2 separate regions of the Homo sapiens genome follow, and region 2 is linked to region 1. The links are contacts of gene promoters, found by promoter capture Hi-C in blood cells and fetal thymus (Javierre and others, 2016). All regions are on one chromosome and are shown on one strand. Each heading gives the region's core, a stretch centred on a gene start or on the middle of the fragment in contact. The rest is flanking DNA. Distances are from core to core; before and after follow the strand shown. Region 1 holds the start of GARIN1A (golgi associated RAB2 interactor 1A). Region 2 overlaps GARIN1B (golgi associated RAB2 interactor 1B).

What was found. Contacts are between HindIII fragments. The CHiCAGO score rates a contact against its expected background, and 5 or more counts as called.
Region 2: a fragment that was not itself captured here is called in contact with the fragment with the promoter of GARIN1A in region 1 in 2 of 17 cell types (M1 macrophages and endothelial precursors); the score reaches 5.4 in M1 macrophages.

Annotation. Positions count from the first base shown.
Region 1 is chr7:128,669,789-128,676,226 of GRCh38, reverse strand. GARIN1A (golgi associated RAB2 interactor 1A) reads right to left here and starts at 3,935. Exons shown (of 5, transcript NM_001128926.4): 1 at 3,677-3,935; 2 at 368-552. The coding sequence starts at 3,829. RefSeq lists a silencer at 3,014-3,073. The HindIII fragment of the contact is 20,881 bases long and covers 1-4,421 here.
Region 2 is chr7:128,727,062-128,733,289 of GRCh38, reverse strand. GARIN1B (golgi associated RAB2 interactor 1B) reads right to left here. Exons shown (of 7, transcript NM_001282788.3): 6 at 3,221-3,388; 7 at 1,547-2,190. The coding sequence ends at 2,177. Among named protein-coding and RNA genes, the nearest start is that of CALU, 9.2 kb to the left of the region's middle. The HindIII fragment of the contact is 161 bases long and covers 1,563-1,723 here.

The DNA.
Region 1 (6,438 bases), core at 2,686-5,185:
CATCCTGGCTAACACAGTGAAACCCCATCTCTACTAAAAATCCAAAAAAAAAAATTAGCTGGGCATGGTGGCAGGCGCCTGTAGTCCCAGCTACTCGGTGAATGGCGTGAACCCGGGAGGCGGGGCTTGCAGTGAGCCGAGATCCCGCCACTGCACTCCAGCCTGGGCAACAGAGCGAGACTCTGTCTCAAAAAAAAAAAAAAAAAAGATACTAAATAAATCGTTGCTAAACAAATGAATGAATGAGTTCTACAGGGTTTATGCACTAAAGAACGCTATCTTTTCTTTTGATCTAAAATCCAGCTACAAAGCAATGCATATCCCAGTCAATCATTCCATCCCTTCCCGCCCTCCCTCAAGCCTTTACCTGCTGAGGTTGATGACTGGGGCGTCACCAGGTGTGCTCCAGGTGGTAAATGGACCCTGGGGCCAGGTAACATTGGCCATCAGGAGGACATTGGGGAGTGGCAGGGAGGGCACCGAGGAGGTGACCCCGAGGATCACGGTGGCAGACCCTTCACAGACATCTCTCCAGTTCCCGGGCTTAGTGACCTGGAAATCAGCCTCAGGTACATGGGTCAGAAAGGAGCAGAAAACAAGGGGTGGAATACAGATGCTGGAAAGTGGCACATCATCTTGGGGGCAGGTGTGCACACACTGGGCTGGGCCCTGACCTGCTATTGATCCTTTTCATTGGCCTCCCCAAATACACTTTAAGGTCATTGGCTGCAGGAACCCTGTGTCATTCTTCTCTGGGTCCTCTGTTTTATCTAACTAAAAAGATAACTGTTTTATCTAACTAAAAAGATGCACTAGCAAGAAAAAGCTGAGTGGCACTGAAGTTTTCATTCCCCCATCTTTGGGCAGGAGAAGCCAGCACTGGTTTCTAGTGGCCCAAAAGGGAGATTGTGTGAAGAAAGTCCCAGAAGGAGAGGAAAGTGAGGAAAAAGCTGTTGAATGGGGAAGACCCAGACAGCTTGAGTTGAGGGAGGTTTGGAGCACTTCTCCCAGGATGATGGAGGGGCTATCTTGTTGCTGGGTCTTGAGTGGAATGAGGACCTATTCTCTTGAAGCAGAAGGCGGCCATCACAGGACAGAAAGACTGGATGCCCACCACTGGGCACTGTGTCTCAGCTAAGACACCCCCCACCTCACTGTGCACGGCTGGCAGAAAAGCACCAGAGCTGTGGCCACTTAGGAGCCACAGGGACCTGGATAAGGAACATATGAGGAGGGACGCCTATGTTCCCAAGGCCAGAGGGCCTTCTCCCAATGCTCTACACTTTTTTTAGAAAATAGAGATGGGGTCTCACTATGTTGCCCAGACTGGTGTCAAACTCCTGGGCTCAAGTGATCTTCCCTTCTCAGCCTCCCAAAGTGCTGGGATCACAGGCATGAGCCACTATGCCCAGCCAATGTTCTAGACTTTGTAAAACTATCGACACCATTGCCCAGTCCTTGGTGGAACTGGGGATGAGGGAAAGCCCCAGGGATGACTGAAATGTAATTTCCCACCAGCCTGACCAGATGGTGTTCCCAGAAAAGTGAATTTTGATTTTGAAAAAAAAAAGTGACACTTCTTGGAGCCCTTGTTGAGGAATGAAATTCATATCCTCTGCAAAACACAAAGGGTTGTACACATTGAGAGTAAGTGCTCAATAAATGTTTGTGGGTAATGCTGCTTTGAGATGATGATAGTGATGGTGATGTGCAGGAAGGGGGAGAGAGGAAGCAGTGTAACTGTACTATAACAACTATAACTATAACTAATATGTGGGTTGCATCACTTCAAGTAAACTTTGGACTGTGTGCGGTCATTCATGCCTATAATCCCAGCACTTTGGGAGTCCAAAGCCGGAGTATCACTTGAAGCCAGGAGTTCAAGACCAGCCTGGGCAACATAGTGAGACCCTGTCTCTATCAAAAATTTTTTTTTAAAAAATCAAACTTTGAACTTTTCTGTGCGGGTCAGCCTCTCCCTAGCACATTCTAAGTTTGCTGCTACCCAGGTCACTTAGTGTCCATTCAGAGAATCTAAACAGTTTTAATATTAGGCCAAAGAAAACAGCACTTTGGGAGGCCAAGGCGGGCAGATCATGAGGTCAAGAGATCAAGACCATCTTGGCCAACATGGTGAAACCCCATCTCTACTAAAACACAAAAAAATTAGCTGGGCGAGGTGGTGCACGCCTGTGGTCCTAGCTACTCGGGAGGCTGAGATAGGAGAATTGCTTGAACCCAGGAGGCAGAGGTTGCAGTGAGCCTAGACCATGCCAGGGCAACGGAGTGAGACTCCATCTCAAAAAAAAAGCACACATTAAGAGAAGAAATTTGCAGCTGAATCATTACACCCAAATAGAAATGACTAGAAATTGGATCCTGAGACTGGACTTCCCATGTTATTGCTCTGTCTCCACCAAGGGTATGTTAGGAATGAGCTCGCCTCAGGTTTGCCAGCTGATCACCCAACTACACATCTCCTGGGGCACAGTAAAGGGACCGTGGAGCGGCAGGAGCCATAAACACAGCTCTCCAAAATCCGGGGACTCCATTAGGGAGCAGCTCGCTGCTCTGTGAAGAGTCTCCAAATTAAGCCCAAGACCCACCTCAAACTGTTCCCACCTTCTCTCCTATAACCCCTGGCTACTTTCCCATTCCATTTGAATGGGTCTGTGTCTTGCAGACCTTGCATTCCAGCCTCCCTGCCTTTCCTTAGGTACTTTGAAGCCCCTCTGTCTGGGATATCCTCCCCGCTGCTCTTCCACTTACCAAAATCTCAGCAGTCTCTCAAAGAATGGCTTAAGACCCTTCTGGAAAGCCTTCTTCAACTGCCAAAGTCCAGAGAGAATGCCTTGAATGAATGCCCCCAGCACCTGCTCTCTGCAGTCATGCCTGGTGCATCAGCTGGCCCAAGCTCTCTGACATAGAGCTTGCTTAGACAGTTACCAAATAACAGGTAAACCAAACTCATAGGCTTCCTGGCCAGGGACACTCTGATTTTTCTCTGCACCTCCTGCCCTGCACTCAGTAGATGTTTAGTGTGTGCTTACTGGCTGATTAACTGGTTATGCTCTCCTGCGCAGGAGCATGGGTTCAGGCTAGACCGCTAGAGGGAGGCAGGCAGCACCCGCGTTAAGACTTGATACTTACGAAAACGACCACCTTCCACTCCCAGTGGCCCCATCCCAGGCTCACTTCCATTGGTCATGTCACCACCATCCTTTTAGGGAATGGTAGGATCTGGGCAACACCTATTTACCCAGTGTCTTTGCTTTCAAACAAGGCTGTTTCTAAACCATCCCAGACTGAGGAGGATGGATTTCAGAGCAGAGTTTCTAACAGCAACCTTCATTCCCTGTAACCATCCACTTTGGACAAGTGGCCCAGAAAGGGCCTGTGAACCCTGCCTGGAGACTGAGCTCTGATCTCTCATTTGTAAAGCATAAATCAATTTCCCTAGAACAGATGACCTGCAGGTAGCTCTATCATACGGTAGGCACAAATGGAGGTGAACTTGGGACCCAGACCTTCTGGTTTTCTCTAGCTTTGGTGGCTTCTTTGTCCCCCCGCCCCCCCCTCCCCCAGGGCTTTAAAAGGCCACAGCATCTCCTAACCAACCCCTAGGAACAGGTTTTGGAAACAGAAAGACAGCTGGCCCTGAGCTCCACGAGGGTACCTGGATAAAGTTGCTTTCAAACACCACCGAGTTGGAGAACAAATTGAATTCTGGAGAATGAATCAGTTGACAAAGAAGGCCATTTTCCACCCCAAGTTCCACTCCAGGGCCTGGTTCCCTGACCTCAGGTGGGAGGCCCCTGATTTTACTCATTGGTTCTTGGTAAGAATGGGCTTGGGAACATTTCTGGGGCTCCACGCCGACCCAGCCCAATGCCAGGATGTTGATGTGATCTGCCCCCACCTCCCCAGCATTTCCTCCCCATTTACTTACGGGCTGTCCACCAGGGCTGGGAGGGCCTGTCAGCTCACAATGGCAGGAATGACATCAAGGAATGTGATGGTGACAACAGAAAAGGGAAAAAAAAAAGAAGAGGAAGGACAGAGGATGTGCCAGGCTCTTTTCTCCCTCTTTCCACCAACTACAAACCAGCAGTAATGCAGCCTATTCCACTTTGTAAACATTCAGCCTTACCCCACATGGAAAAAATGACCCTCCCAAAGTTATGCCAAGGCAGCAGTGAGCTGGCCAGATGCAAGGAAGGCTCTCGGGAACATACAGGCTTTAATCCTCTTGGCTCCCCTTGAAGCCCCTCACCAAACTTCCATGGGACTTGTTCACCTGCCCAGGGAAGTCTAAGGATAGGAAAAAGGGAGTTCATCTTCCCTACCCCATCTCATGGGAGAAAAGGAGATTTTTTTTTTTTTTTAAAGAAATGGACACCTGTTAACTAAACTGAGAAGCTTATTTATTTGGAAACAGTGGGCAAAGGAGAAGGCAGTGGCACAGTTGTATGCTGGAGCCAGACCAAAACAGGTCACGAGAGCTGGTTGTTACATTTTCAGGAATGCTACAAACCAGTTGTTAAACACAGCAATTATTAAAACTTTTTTTTTTTTTTTTTTGAGACAGAGTTTTGCTCTTGTTGCCCAGGCTAGAGTGCAGTGGCGTGATCTCGGCTCACCACAACCTCCGCCTCCCATCTTCAAGCAATTCTCCTGCCTCAGCCTCCCGAGTAGCTGGGATTACAGGCATGCACCACCACACCCGGATAATTTTGTATTTTTAGTAGAGACAGGGTTTCTCCATGTTGGTCAGGCTGGTCTGGAACACCTGACCTCAGGCGATCCACCCACCTCGGCCTCCCAAAGTGCTGGGATTACAGTCATGAGCCACCAAGCCCAGCCTTTAAAACTTAAATGATATAAACTTGGCTGGGCTTGGTGGCTCATGACTGTAATCCCAGCACTTTGGGAGGCCGAGGTGGGTGGATCGCCTGAGGTCAGGTGTTCGAGACTAGCCTGGTCAACGGGTGAAACCCCGTCTCAACTAAAACTACAAAAATTAGCCGGGTGTGGTGTGGGTACCTGTAGTCCAGCTACTTGGGAGGCTGGGGCAGGGCGATCGCTTGAATCTGGGAGGTGGAGGTTGTGATGAGCCAAGATGGTGCCACTGCACTCCAGCCTAAGCGACAAAGCAAGACTCTGTCTCAAAAAAAAGAAAAGAAAAGAAACAGTATACAGTGGTGGGCTGCTGCATATCTCTTCCCAGGGTGTGTTCAGGAACTTCATCTTGTTAGCTAGCTTGAAATCAGCAAGTGCTACAAATCAGGGTTTGATTTATTGTTCTGTTGATTGTCTAAACTAAAGTGATAGAGAAAATGTTAATTATGCAGATTAAACTTAAAGATGTGTCTGTAGCTATTATATTTTGGGCATAGAAAAATCTGAGAAAATAGCCTTCCAGTATTTGAAGACTTACCTAATTTAGCGAAGAAGTTGCCCACGTCATTGACAAATGAGTAAAGTTCCAATACACAACTTTGTTATTTCACTTTTGCCTTGCTCATTAATGTAAATCAAAATATCAACCAATATTCATGTCAGAACTATACTTGCTTGTCAGTTGCAATCATAGGTTGGCTAGAAATATCAGCGTTTGACAAAAATCAACAAAAGCTTTTGGTAAGAATCAACTGGTCATATGAAATTTACAATAAAGAGTATTATAAGGCCAGGTGCAGTGGCTCACGCCTGTAATCCCAGCACTTCAGGAGGCCAAGGTGGGTGGATTGTTTGAACTTAGGAGTTCAAGATCAGCCTGGGCAACATGGTAAAACCTCGTCTCTACAAAAAATACAAAAATTACCCGGGTGTGGTGGCACGCCCTGTGGTCCCAGCTATTTGGGAGGCTGAGGTGGGAGGATCACTTGAGTCCAGAAGGCAGAGGTTGCAGTGAGCAGAGATTGTGCCACTGCGCTCCAGCTTGGGTGACAGAATGAGACTCCCATCTCAAAAAAAAAAAAAAAAGGGATCCTAAAATTGTATATTTAAAAAGAGAAAAAGGGCTAGGTGCAGTGGTTCACACCTGTAATCCCAGCACTTTGGAAGGCCGAGGCGGGTGGATCACCTGAGGTCAGGAGTTGGAGACCAGCCTGACCAACATGGTGAAACCCCATCTCTACTAAAAATATAAAAAATTAGCCGGGCGTGGTGGCAGGCATCTGTAATCCCAGCTACTCGGGAGGCTGAGGTAGGAGAATCACTTGAACCTGGGAGGTGGAAGTTGCAGTGAGCTGAGATCACACCATTATTGCACTCCAGCATGGACAACAAGAACAAAACTCCACCTAAAAAAAAAAAAGAAAGAAAAAAGAATCCAACATCAGATCACTTCCCAGTTGGATGTATGAAAATTGGCACTTCTGGCTGGGTGTGGTGGCTTACACCTTTAATCCCAGTACTTTGGGAGGCCAAGGAGGG
Region 2 (6,228 bases), core at 394-2,893, 59 kb before region 1:
CAATTCTGACTATGTTCTCAGTGAAATAGGAAGCAGGGTCATCAGGAGGAGGCATTGGCAGTTAGAGGAGAGAGGTGTGAAATAGCCATTCAGCAGAGTGAACAGATTTAGGAGAACACATGATGATTTCCAGGCAACATCAAGGACCCCCTTGAGGCCATGATGATGACTTTGCAGGGAGACTGGTTAGTATGTCATGTGATCTTCTCCAGAGAGGTTCAGTGGCAAGTTCAGCAGCATCACACAGGCATGGAGCTGGTAGAGAACTGAATTTAGCCAAGGGAAGAAAGTGAGAGAGTCACAAAGATGTTGAGAATGCATGCCAGGAAGTGATAATAATAATGACTGATCACAGATAATCTAGGTTACAGGGGAAGGAAATGAGAACATGAAGAGAGCGAGGAACAGTGAAAACCTGGTAGAAGCAATAGATTGTAGGATTGGTGGGTCAATGGATTATTGGACTCAGGAAAAAATAGGAGGTGTTATAGCTAGGGAGTGGAAATAATGGGGTTAGGTGCAGTTATTAATGACAAACACTAGGGTAAAATCAAGGGAGACAGTGGTCGAGGAGGGTGGAAAAAGCATTGCTGGAAGGCAGGAGTTCAGGGAACAGAGATCAAAGTATGGGAAGGATCATCCATGTGGATGCTGAAATCACTAAGAATTAGGACATAACTCAGCCTTTGAGTAATGGTGATCCAGGAGCTTATTTTTTAGCCTTCTAACAATTTCAGGCTGAAAACTAGTTAAGTGAGGAAAAAGATGCTGCTAGGATATCTTAAGTCAAATCAAAATACCCTCCCCAGCTGGGGGATGGACAGCTTTCCTGAAATACTCATAGTCTGTTTCTCATTAAATGTGAAATTTTTCTTTTTTTGAGACAGGATCTCACTCTGTCACCCAGGCTGAAGTGCAGTGGCACACTCATTGCTCACTGCAGCCTCGACCTCCTGGGCTCAAGCAATCCTCCCATCTCAGCCTGCCTGGTAGCTGGGACTACAGGCACACACCACCACTCCTGGCTAATTTTTTTGTATTTTTGGCAGAGATGGGTTTTCGCCATGTTTCGCAGGCTGGTCTCAAACTTCTGGGCTCAAGTGGTTCACCTGCCTCAGCCTCCCAAAGCGTTGGGATTACAGGCACGAGCTACTGCTCCTGACACTATTGCACATTTTAAACAAAGAGGCCAGTCCATAGACCATCTGACAAACACTCCTTCATGACTCCCTTCATCTATAATTGGTAAACCTCTGATTAACCTGTATGTTGAGCCTATATCTCCTATCTCTGGAATCTCTAATTTAAAAAGCACTAACAAGGTATGTCGACATTTCAAGGGAGTGTTATACAAAAAAGAAGTTGAGCCAGTGTTTGCGGCACGGAGATAATAGCAAACTTAGGGAATTTGAACACAAAAGAGAAATTCGCCCTACCTTACACACCTTGTCTTACTACCTCCTATAAGAACCTTTCTGCAGCTCAAACCCAAACCTCTATTAGGAACAACAGGGCTAGCAAGTCCAAGTTAGGGAACAGGCCAACAAAGAAGGAATGAAGCTTTAATCAGAAGACAGGAACTAGCAAGAAAAACAGATAGAAAGGGAAATGGAAGGTGTCTGGCAGTTCACATTTGTCCAGAATGGTCTGAGCAGGGAAGAAAACATTTCTTTTTTTTGTTTATGGCTTTACTTTCAAGTTTTAAATTAGATAAATAGAAGCTTGGTGAGCATCTCTCAGGGGTGTGTCCCTTCTCTTGTCCTCCTTATCTCGTCTACCAAGTCTCTTCCGTTTCCTATTACCACTTCTCTTTGTGTCTCTCATCTGCTGACTTTCTCCCACCACCTTTCTCATCACCTCCATTTTGCTTCCTTCCACTTCTCTGGTCCTACTTCCCTTTCACTCCTTTCCTTCATCTCTTGGGCCCGGCCATTCTGAGAGCACATCTTGCTAGGCCAGCTCTGGCAGTGGCATGGAGGTGGCATATGCCGAGGTGCAGTGGCGAGGACGTGGTTATGTACAGCTGGAAAGGCTCTGCTGTCACCGTGAGATGACTCTATTCTTCCTTGGTTGCAGTTTTCTCCTACTCTCCATCCCGATAATCCCTCAGCAGCTGAATGCTGCAAAGTGGTGTTGACGAGGCTTGCATAGATTCTCCCCAGTGCGGAAGGGTGGCTCAAATAGAATTTCCTGTGAGTGTAGGAGAGAAAAGTGTTTGATAGGATATAAATTACCTAAAAAGCTCTTTTGTGGGCACACAGATACTTATGCTAATTTAAAAAAATTGTCAACTATCTATAATAGGTATCTTATAAGGGTTGGTGGTGGCCGGGCCCAGTGGCTCACACCTGTAATCCTAGCACTTTGTGGGAGGCCAAGGTGGGCAGATCACCTGAGGTTGAGAGTTCTGAGGTCGAGAGTTCGAGACAAGACTGGCCAACATGGTGAAACCCTGTGTCTACTAAAAATACAAAAATTAGCTGGGCGTGGTGGTGCATGTCTGTAATTCCAGCTACTCAGGAGGCTGAGGCAGGAGGATCACTTGAACCTGGGAGGCGGAGGTTGCAGTGAGCCAAGATCATGCCACTGCACTCCAGCCTGGGTGATAGAGTGAGACTCCGTCTCAAAAAAAAAAGAGTTGGTGGTTTATTCATGACATTTTACTTTAGAAAACAGAAATCACCCCTCCCTTTTAGGGAAATCTATCTCTGGTCAAACAGAGGCACATAGGAAGTACTTCACAAATGTTTGTTAAATGAATGTGTGGATGGACGAATGGGCCTTGAGCATGAAGACAGAAGGACTGGGACCTTAGGGAGGTCTGACCCCACCCCAGCCCCCTTAACCTACTTCCTTTTCACTCTCTGCATCCCAACCCAAGCAGTAAGAAGGCCCTTCAAGAGCTCCAGGAAAGGAAAAGAGAGGAAAGACCACATGGGGAGTCTGCAGAGGAGATCCCTTACACCTCCCATACAGCAAGAGAAAGCAGCTATAGCGTCAACAGCATCTGGGGGAACTCTGGGGGCCCTGGAGGTGCCACACATCATGGTTTTGCTCAGCCCAGTTGGGAAAAGAGGGCTGAGGTCTCTGTGGCCAGCATTCCTCGACCACACCCCACAACTTTCTGGAATCACCCTCAGGACCCCAGGATCTGACCCAGCCCTGAGGCTGAATGCCAGGGCTGCCCCACAATGGCAGGGGATTCCTCCCATTGCTGTACCTATGGGTGGGGCCAGCTGTGGCCCGGTGGAGGCTGCCAGAGTGCTGAGTAGTGAGAGGGGCTGCAGGCCGGAGGGGTTCTCTCTTTCCCACTCTCCGTACGTGAATGAAGCCCTCCAACGTAGGTCACAGGTGCAAGGGATGCTGTCTTCACGGGAAGAATCTTTCCCTAGATCAAGTAAAGAAATGCATTTGCTTGTGTGCTGGTTCACAGAGCCCTTACAGGTTACAGCTGACATTTGGGGGGGTGCTTACGATGTGCCAGGCACCATTCCAAACAATTACGTGCATTCATGGTCCTTTAATCCTCACCTCTGTGAGGTCAGAGAGGGTGAGTAACTTACCAACTGTCACACAAGGAGAAGCAGAGTCAGAATTCCAAGCCTGGCAGCCTGGCTCCAGAGTCCACGTTCTTACCACTATGTCACGTGAACAAGACAGCACCAGTAAAAGGAGAGACCCAATATGATTCAGATGGGTTAACTGAGTGGATTTCCCCAGGAGACTCATCTAGCTGAACTAGCAATGGCCTTGAACCCAGAAGACCTTAAGCTAGAGCCTGTTCTTGGTCCACTTGGCCCTGGCTCTTCAAAGGATGGCCCACAGCCCAGCACCTTGGGCATTACCTGGGAGCATGTTAGAATCGCAGTCTCAATCCCGCTAGACCCAAGAAATTAGAATCTGCCTTTTAACAAGATCTATGGGGGACTGTTTGGACATTAAAGTTTGGGAAGCACTGCAATAATAGGCCATACCACCTGCTGGTGGTGAGTGGAAAGATTCAGCCACACAGGTGCTGTTGGGCCTCTGGTTTTTCCAATTTTAAGTCTCTTTTTCATCCAAAAGTTCCAGAGGCTGGGGTATAACAGTCTTTTTAAACTGAGAGACTACACTCCCTCGCCGAATGAGAAAAGAGGGCCTGGAGGCCACCTGGGATGGTTAATTTCAATTCAATTTCAGCCTAGGAACATCTTGGCCGTGGTAGGTCCCATGATGCCAGATACCCTGCGACCCTAAAATTCTAGCTGTTTTCTCAAGTCCCAGAAATGTTTGAAATATTCCTCACATCTGTTTTCTTCAACCCTAATGTCATGGGGTATGTTTTGAGTGTGTATGTTTATACATATGTGTGTTTGAATGTATGTTTAAATGCAGAGAAATGAGTCACCATCATGTCATTAGTCGCATAACATGAGAAAACATTCTTAGGCTTGGACAAAATGTGAGGCAGCCACAGCTGTGCTCACCATTTAGAACAGGGGCTGTGAGCTGGCAGCCTCCAGGCTGAATGTGGTCTGCAGATATGTTTTGTTTGCCCACTAAGTGTTAGCCAATACTATGCTTGAATATTTTATGGGAAGGTGGTATGCCACATATGTCCAGATCTTTTGGCTTCTCTTGAAAAATCAGAATATTTGGCCTGGATTCCAGCATGGCAACAACGAATGGAAGTCTTAATTGAAGCTTTCACTTTCTCATTGCCACTATCCCCACCACTCCCTGCTGTCTTCTCAGTTTTGACACCAAGTGTCAGCTGCCAGCAGTTGTTTTACTTATAACAGAATTTAGAGAAAAGTTAACCTTTTCTTACATCCATGTCACCCAGCCCTTTATCCATTTTTTTTTTTTAAGTCTGAGTCTCGCTCTGTCACCAGGCTGGAGTGCAGTGGCGTGATCTCGGCTCACTGCAACCTCCACTTTCCCAGATTCAAGCGATTCTCCTGTCTCAGCCTCCCGAGTAGCTGGGACTACAGGTACGCACCATCATGCCCAGCCAATTTTTGTATTTTTAGTAGAGATGGGGTTTCACCATGTTGGCTAGGCTGGTCTCGAACTCCTAACCTCGTGATCCATCCACCTCGGCCTCCCAAAGTGCTGGGATTACAGGCGTGAGCCACCGCGCCCTGCCCCCTTTACCCATTTATACCACCTGCAGTCCTATGCATTTGTAATCCCTGATTTAGACGAAAGTTAGCAGAGTTCCCCTGGGACCTACAGCCTTCTCTAAATTTATAAATATCTTATGATATTTTGGCTGCCTACTGAGCCAACGTGAAGGAATAATTTATTAGTGCCATGGTATATGGGTATTAATTGCCTCCCATTGTGTTCTCAGGCCTCTGCTTCATGCTGTGGATAATTGAGAAGCCTGAAAACAATTTAGTATTCACTGAAGAAATATCCCTCAAACCTATAAAACAACTAGGGAATAATGAAAGAGAGGTTATGACCGAGGAAGGATTAGCCTGGCAGGAAGGTGTTGTGTGAAGGGTAGGATTTAGAAGGATAGGGAGGATTTAGAGTGAAGCATCGGGGGAAGGGAGTGGATGGGGGATGAAGGAGGCATGGGATGGCTAAGGTTTGCTGGAGCAAAAGATTTGGGCTAGAGAAGATGATTAGGCAGAGGGCTGCTATTAGAGGAAGAGTGAGTGAGCAGGTGAGATGGGTGAGATGGGGGAAGATTGTGCAGGGCCATGCATGCCGAATTGAGTGGATTTGGGGTGAACTAGAACCTGGAAATAGGGAACTGGCTGCTTTTTCCAGAATGTGTCATGCTCCCTCTTGCAGACTCTGTCTCTTCTTCCTAGAATGCCCTGCGTTACCTGTTTCAGCCAGCTCACCTGCACTCATTGTCTATGACTCAGTTCAGAAACCATGCCTCCCAGGCAAGCTTCCTGGCAGGAATGAGGGACCCCCTTCTTTGTGCTCCTTTGGCACCCTAGGCACAAGCTTTGAATGTTGCCTGGAAGGAGACATTTTGTAATTCGGGGATTTTCCCATCTGACACCACCAAATTATAAACTTCTTGCGGGAACATGGTGTCTTTCTACATGGTGGCCCTAGAGCCCATCACAGTAACTGGCACTCAGTGCGTGGTTTTGAATGAATAAATGGATAAATGAACTTATGGAAGAGTGCTACAGGCTTGAGATGAGAAGGGCTGGGCTGGGGTAGGGTCTGTGGGTGTAGAAATGAAGTAAAGAATACAAGATACATTGCAAAGAAAGA